Regions from separate parts of the Homo sapiens genome. Here region 2 is linked to region 1. The links are contacts of gene promoters, found by promoter capture Hi-C in blood cells and fetal thymus (Javierre and others, 2016). All regions are on one chromosome and are shown on one strand. Each heading gives the region's core, a stretch centred on a gene start or on the middle of the fragment in contact. The rest is flanking DNA. Distances are from core to core; before and after follow the strand shown.

Region 1 (3,459 bases), core at 796-3,295:
TCTCAGCTCACCACAACCTCTGCCTCCCGAGTTCAAGCGATTCTCCTGCCTCAGCCTCCCGAGTAGCTGGGATTACAGGCATGTGCCACGATGCAAGGCTAATTTTGTATTTTTAGTGGAGACAGTGTTTCTCCATGTTGGTCAGGCTGGTCCCGAACTCCTGACCTCAGGTGATCCACCCGCCTCGGCCTCCCAAAGTGCTGGGATTACAGGTGTGAGCCACTGCACCCAGTGGTATACTGCATTATTAAGAAGAGACAGGCCAGGTGCGGTAGATCACACCCATAATCCCAGCACTTGGGGAAGTCAAGGCAGGAAGATTACTTGAGGCCAAGAATTCTAGACCAGCCTGGGCTGTTAACAGAGTGAGACCCCATCTGTAAAAAATAAAAATAAAAATTAGTTAGGTGTGGTAGCATGTGCCTATAGTCCCAGCTACTCAGAAGACTGAAGGATTGCTTGAGCCCAGGAGTTGAAGGCTGCAGTGAGCTAAGATCATGCCACTCTACTTCAGCCTGGGCAACAGAGCAAGACTCCAACTCTTAAAAAAAATGAAGAAGAGACAAAAAGAGGTAGGCAAAGATAATGACAGATAGGGTAAAAACATGAATTGTTTGGGTCTTCATATGAAGTTAATAATACATGGCTTGATTTTATGGAATTATAGTAACATTATGTAAGATACTGCAAGTGGAGGTGCTTTGCTTAGAAAAGTACAGAATTCTGCAGAAATATAAGGCATATTAAATAACATGTGGGCAACAGAGACAGAGACAGTGAGACAGGTCTGTCACAGGTCAATAACCTCTGAGCCCTCAACAACATGTCTCCCCTGCTATCGGTAGTCCACAGTAGGATTTTTGGTAAATAAGTGTAGAACATTACGAATAACACTAACCATGTTCCCAACAGCTTAGGGCTGTCAGCTTAGGGCTGTCAGGAACATGCCTTGGTTTTACCGGAATTAGTATTCCTCATGTTCACCTGGCCAGAGAGAGTTAATGAGAAACGCATGTAGAGATGAAGACGCAATAAATAACGAAGGAGTGTTCTCTCAGCCAACTTCTCTTCCTTTCCCCAGCAACCTCCTCAGTGCGCCCTTCACTTCCATGTTCCGCAGCGTGTAGATGAGGGGATTCACCATGGGTGTGACCAACGAGTAGAACAGGGAAATGAACTTGCCCTGGTCCTGTTTGCTGTTCTTGGCCGGAAGCAGATACCCATAGCTGGCTGAGCCATAGAAGAGGAACACCACCAGCAGATGGGAGAGGCACGTATTGAACGCCTTTCGCCTCCCCTCTGCAGAGCGGATTTTCAGCACTGCCTGAGCAATGAGGCAGTAGGAGATCACGATGATGCTTAGTGGGACTGCAGTGAAGAAGGTGCAGACACCATTGAGCACAGCCTGGTTGAGACTTGTGTCGCCACAGGCCAGTTTGATCATGGCAGGCACCTCGCAGAGGAATCCCTCCACCCTCCGGTGCCCACACAATGGGAGCTGCAGAGTGAATGTTGACTGGATCACAGAGTTGCCCAAGCCACCCAGGCAGGCAATCACAGCCAGCAGCCAGCAGAGCTGGGGGTTCATGATGGCGGTGTAGCGGAGGGGCCGGCACACTGCCACGTAGCGGTCAAATGCCATCACCACCAGCAGGATGCACTCGGTGGCCCCCAGCCAAAGGAAGACATAGAGCTGGGTTATGCAGCCACCATAGCTGATGGTCTTGCCTGGTCCCCATAAATTGATCAGCATTTGGGGGACTGAACTAGTAGCGAAAGCAAGGTCCAAGGAGGAGAGGTTGCTGAGGAAGAAGTACATGGGTGTATGGAGCCGGGCCTCCAGGCGGGAAAGCAAGATGATGGTTGAGTTCCCAAGTAGGGTCAGCAAATAGGAGAAGAGGATGGCTATAAAAAAGATCATCTCCAGCTGGGGATGGTCTGATATGCCCATCAGAACAAAGCCCTGCAAGGAGCTATCATTCACCCCGTCCATCACTGGTTGTCTTCAGTCACTTGATGAATTCATTTAGCGCAAGCTGCTGGAAGAAAAGTCAAGAAAAAGCTGTTGGATGAGGTGGATTTGCATCAGGAACGGTCTAATAGTTCTCTGGGATCCATAGTTAAGTAACAACCTATTTTTTGTTTGTTTTTTGAGACAGAGTCTCTCACTGTCACCCAGGTTGGAGTGCAGTGGCACAATCTCAGCTCACTGCAACCTCCTTCTCCCTGGCTCAAGCAATCCTCTTGTCTCAGCCTCCCAAGTAACTGTGACCACAGGTGTGTGCCACCACATCCAAATAACTTTTGTATTTTTTGTAGAGATGGGGTTTTGCCATGTTGCCCAGGGTTGTCTCCAACTCTTGGGCTCAAGTGATCCATCTGCCTCAGCCTCCCAAAGTGCTGGGATTACAGGCATGAACCACTGCACCTGGACTCCAACTTACTTTTTAAGATTGCAAGCTTTTTTTTTTTTTTTGAGACAGAGTCTCGCTCTGTCACCCAGGCTGGAGTGCAGTGGTGCAATCTCGGCTCATTGCAACTTCCGCCTCCCAGGTGCAAGCAATTCTCCTGCCTCAGCCTCACGAGTAGCTGGGACTACAGGCATGCACCACCATGCCTGGCTAATTTTTGTTTTAGTAGAGACGGGGTTTCACCATGTTGGCCAGGCTGGTCTCGAACTCCTGACCTCGTGATATGCCAGCCTCAGCCTCTCAAAAAGCTGGGATTACAGGTGTGAGCCACCGTGCGTGGCCTAGATTTCAAACTTCTGTTGTAATCCCCATCTACTGTTGGTTACACACCGAATGGAAAAGTTGATTCCATCAGAATGTCAGGTATGAGCTAACACGGAAATGAAGGAAGTGCCTCATGATGACAAAACCAAAAGACCCCAAGAACTGAAGAGCCCTTCAGTTCAGAACAATGGCTATGACGGGATAGAGAGAGTTGACCATTAGAATTAGATGTGAAAGTTCTCAAAAACTTTCAGTCAGACTGAAATTTCAGTCAGGCATGGTGGCTCACACCTGTAATCCCAGCATTTTAAGAGGCTGAGGTGGGAGGATCTCTTGAGCCCCAGTGTTCAAGGCAGCAGTGAGCCCCTGTACTCCAATGCCTGAGTGACAGAGGGAGACCCTATCTCTTGAAAACAACAGCAACAACACATTTCCCCAGCCAAGATTCTGATACGCTCAGGGAAGGGGGGAAGCAGACACATTGTATTTGGAAAAGCTCCCCAGAATTTTCTGTTAAATTTCCTCTGCTCTCTTCTACATCCCTCCCCTCTGAGTTTTACCTCAGTGCTGGATCTAGAAAGATGATGTTTGAGGAATAACATGATGAATCTATAAAGTCACAGAAATAATGGAAAGAGTAGATACAGACTTATGCTCCAAATACAGAAGCTGGGAATGTACAATTTAAGAGGAGGTCAATGTAGAGCAAACAAAACTTCACTTA
Region 2 (3,374 bases), core at 498-2,997, 110 kb after region 1:
TTTTGGTAGACAGGGTTTCACCATATTAGCCAGGCTGGTCTCAAACTCCTGACCTCAAGTGATCCACCCACCTTGGCCTCCCAAAGCGCTGGGATTGCAGGCGTGAGCCACCGTGCCCAGCCATTTCTCTTTCCTTCCTTCCCTCCCTCCCTCCCTTCCTTCCTTTCTTCCTTCCTTCCTTTCTTTTCTTCTTGAGACAAGGTCTCACTCCCATCACTAAGGCTGGAGAGCAGTGGCACAGTCACAGCTCACTGCAGGCTCAGCTTCCTGGGCTCGGGTGATTCTGAGTAGCTGGCATCCTGAGTAGCTGGGACTACAGGCATGTGCTACCACTTCCGGCTACTTTTTTGTATTTTTAATAGAGACAGGGTTTCGCCATGTTGCCCAAGCTGGACTTGAACTCCTGGGCTCAAGCGATCCCACTGCCCCGGCCTCCTGAAGTGCTAGGATTACAGGCATGAGCCACCATACCTGGTCTATTTTTTTCTGTTGTTGCTGTTTTTATAATAGCCATTCTAATGGATGTGAAGGGATATTTTGTTGTGTGTGTTTTTTTTTCATTTATTATCTTTTTATTTCAATAGAAAGAAAGGGGTGTATAATCAATTTGACATAGATAATTCTAGTAGATAATATCAATGTCATTTTAAGTCCATTCTGAAAACTCCTTGTGGTTTTGATATCCATGTCTTTAAAGCACCCCAGTACATGACAGTCTGTGGCCAAAGTTGAGGACCAGCATTTAGACCTCTGAATCCAGGGAAGACTTTTCTTTGTGTAGCTCAGGCTGGGCTAGGTGTGCCCTGTGGAGAATGTAGTTCATTTCCAGCTCACGGGTACTTGGGCCACCCCCTCGCTCCGGCCTTCTCTGGTCAACAGTCTTTTGTCTCTAGGGCTAAGACAGTGCCTGTCCCTGAAAAGTGGACCACTCCTCAAGAGATAAAACAAAAGATCCAACTCCTCCACCAGAAGTCAGAGTTTGTGGAGAAGAGCACAAAGTACTTCTCAGGTAGATGGGCTTGGGAGAAGATTGGAGGTGCATGCTCACTTCCTCCCTAAGATCCACATAGCCCAGAGCCCCTCACTTCCCTCCTCTTCCCCTGGTCTTGCTGACCTGCCTTCAACCTCTCCTCCATCTGTCCCTGGCTGAGGGACCTAACTCCAGCTTCTCTCTGCTCCCTTTCCCACATTTTAGAAACCCTGCGTTCAGAAATGGAAATGTTCAATGGTGAGTCCAGCGGTAATGGTGTGTGCTGGCCTGGGGTTGTTGCAGTGTTCCCTTGTGCTGTTGACTTGAGGGGCCCTATTTAGAAGACAAAAAAAAAAACCAAACACCTGGAGCAAAGGTAGGAGAAAGGTCATGGCAGGCCCCCCAGGCTCTGTGCGTGACTCATTGACTGAGTTGACTCATTAGACCACAGTCCCCAACATGGCCTGGGTTCCTGGGAGGAACGGGATTATACCCAACATAGCATGCAGGGCCCTAAGCAGGGGGTTCCTTGTCTTTCCTTGTTGTCAGGACAGTGTAATTTAGCCCCTCTTAATGCTAATGCTCAGGATTTTTTTCCCTATCTGATTTTTCTCCGTAGTTCCGGAGCTGATTGGCGCTCAGGCACATGCTGGTAAGTGCCCAGATCAAGGCAAGTGGCCCTGGCCTGCTGGATCCCTGTGCTCTCCCCTACCACGTTCCAGAAGAACTACCCTGTCCCTGTTTCCTGCAGGTGGGGAGAACCCTGTAGGGATGTTGCCCATGGACCCCTACCTAGGTATTCAAATTTTCTTTGCAGTTAATGTGATTCTGGATGCAGAAACCGCTTACCCCAACCTCATCTTCTCTGATGATCTGAAGAGTGTTAGACTTGGAAACAAGTGGGAGAGGCTGCCTGATGGCCCGCAAAGATTTGACAGCTGTATCATTGTTCTGGGCTCTCCGAGTTTCCTCTCTGGCCGCCGTTACTGGGAGGTGGAGGTTGGAGACAAGACAGCATGGATCCTGGGAGCCTGCAAGACATCCATAAGCAGGAAAGGGAACATGACTCTGTCGCCAGAGAATGGCTACTGGGTGGTGATAATGATGAAGGAAAATGAGTACCAGGCGTCCAGCGTTCCCCCGACCCGCCTGCTAATAAAGGAGCCTCCCAAGCGTGTGGGCATCTTCGTGGACTACAGAGTTGGAAGCATCTCCTTTTACAATGTGACAGCCAGATCCCACATCTATACATTCGCCAGCTGCTCTTTCTCTGGGCCCCTTCAACCTATCTTCAGCCCTGGGACACGTGATGGAGGGAAGAACACAGCTCCTCTGACTATCTGTCCAGTGGGTGGTCAGGGGCCTGACTGAATGCCCAACACTGCATCTCTCTTCCTGCTTCTGGCCTTGTATCTTGCATTCACACTCAATAGTCACGGAATGCCGACTAGGTGCTAGCTGCTATGGGAAATGCAAAAATAACAAAATAGTTACTGTGCCCACGGAGCCTACCCGATTATAGCAGAGGTAAGTTAGGAACGAACATGTTAGTCAATCCGGGTGAAGACATGTACTGATGACACACCATGGATTTCAGAGGAGGAAGTACGGAGTCGTTGCATAATCCGCCCCTGGTGGGTGGCACTCTCAGGTGCTCCTGAACAGAAGATTTGGCCCTCATTTTCCCTCAGAACCCCACGGCAAGGATATATGTCCCCTTGTTCTCTCTGCTTCTGTCTTGAGGATATGGGAAGCCTAGAGAAACGCAAGCAGACTGGATTGGGATAGAAGTATTTGTGTACCTGGATTAATGAACTATGATTTTTTTTTTTTTTTTTTGAGACCAAATCTTGCTCTGTGGCCCAGGCTGGAGTGCAGTGGCACGATCTCAGCTCACTGCAACCTCCACCTCCCAGGTTCAAGCGATTCTCCTGCCTCAGCCTCCTGAGCAGCTGGGATTACAGGTGCGTGCCACCACACCAGGCTGGTTTTCTTGTATTTTTAGTAGAGACGGGGGTTTCACCATGTTAGCCAGGCTGGTCTCGAACTCCTGACCTCAGGTGATCCACCCGCCTCAGCCTCCCAAAGTGCTGGGATTACAGGCATGAGCCACTGTGCCCGGCCTATGATTCTTTTTTTTTTTTTTTTTTGAGACAAAGTTTTGCTCTTGTCACCCAGGCTGGAGTGCAGTGGTGCAATCTTGGCTCGCAACCTCCGCCTCCCAGGTTCAAGAGATTCTCCTGCCTCAGCCTCCGAAGTAGCTGGGATTACAGGCGCCCGCCACCATGCCCGGCTAATTTTTTGCATTTTTAGTAGACATGAGGTTTCATCATGTTGGCCAGGCCGGTCTCAAACTCCTGACCTCAGGTGATGCACCCACCTCAGCCTCCCAAAGTGCAGGGAT

The links. Contacts are between HindIII fragments. The CHiCAGO score rates a contact against its expected background, and 5 or more counts as called.
Region 2: a contact is called between a fragment that was not itself captured here and the fragment with the promoter of OR2C1 in region 1, in 1 of 17 cell types (megakaryocytes). The highest score is 5.5, in megakaryocytes.

Annotation. Positions count from the first base shown.
Region 1 is chr16:3,354,475-3,357,933 of GRCh38, reverse strand. OR2C1 (olfactory receptor family 2 subfamily C member 1) reads right to left here and starts at 2,045. Exons shown (of 1, transcript NM_012368.3): 1 at 628-2,045. The coding sequence starts at 1,993. The coding sequence ends at 1,055. The HindIII fragment of the contact is 3,889 bases long and covers 1-2,462 here.
Region 2 is chr16:3,242,108-3,245,481 of GRCh38, reverse strand. MEFV (MEFV innate immunity regulator, pyrin) reads left to right here. Exons shown (of 10, transcript NM_000243.3): 7 at 894-1,009; 8 at 1,196-1,228; 9 at 1,590-1,622; 10 at 1,788-3,374. The coding sequence ends at 2,341. Among named protein-coding and RNA genes, the nearest start is that of ZNF200, 8.6 kb to the right of the region's middle. RefSeq lists an enhancer at 961-2,160. The HindIII fragment of the contact is 4,878 bases long and covers 1-3,374 here.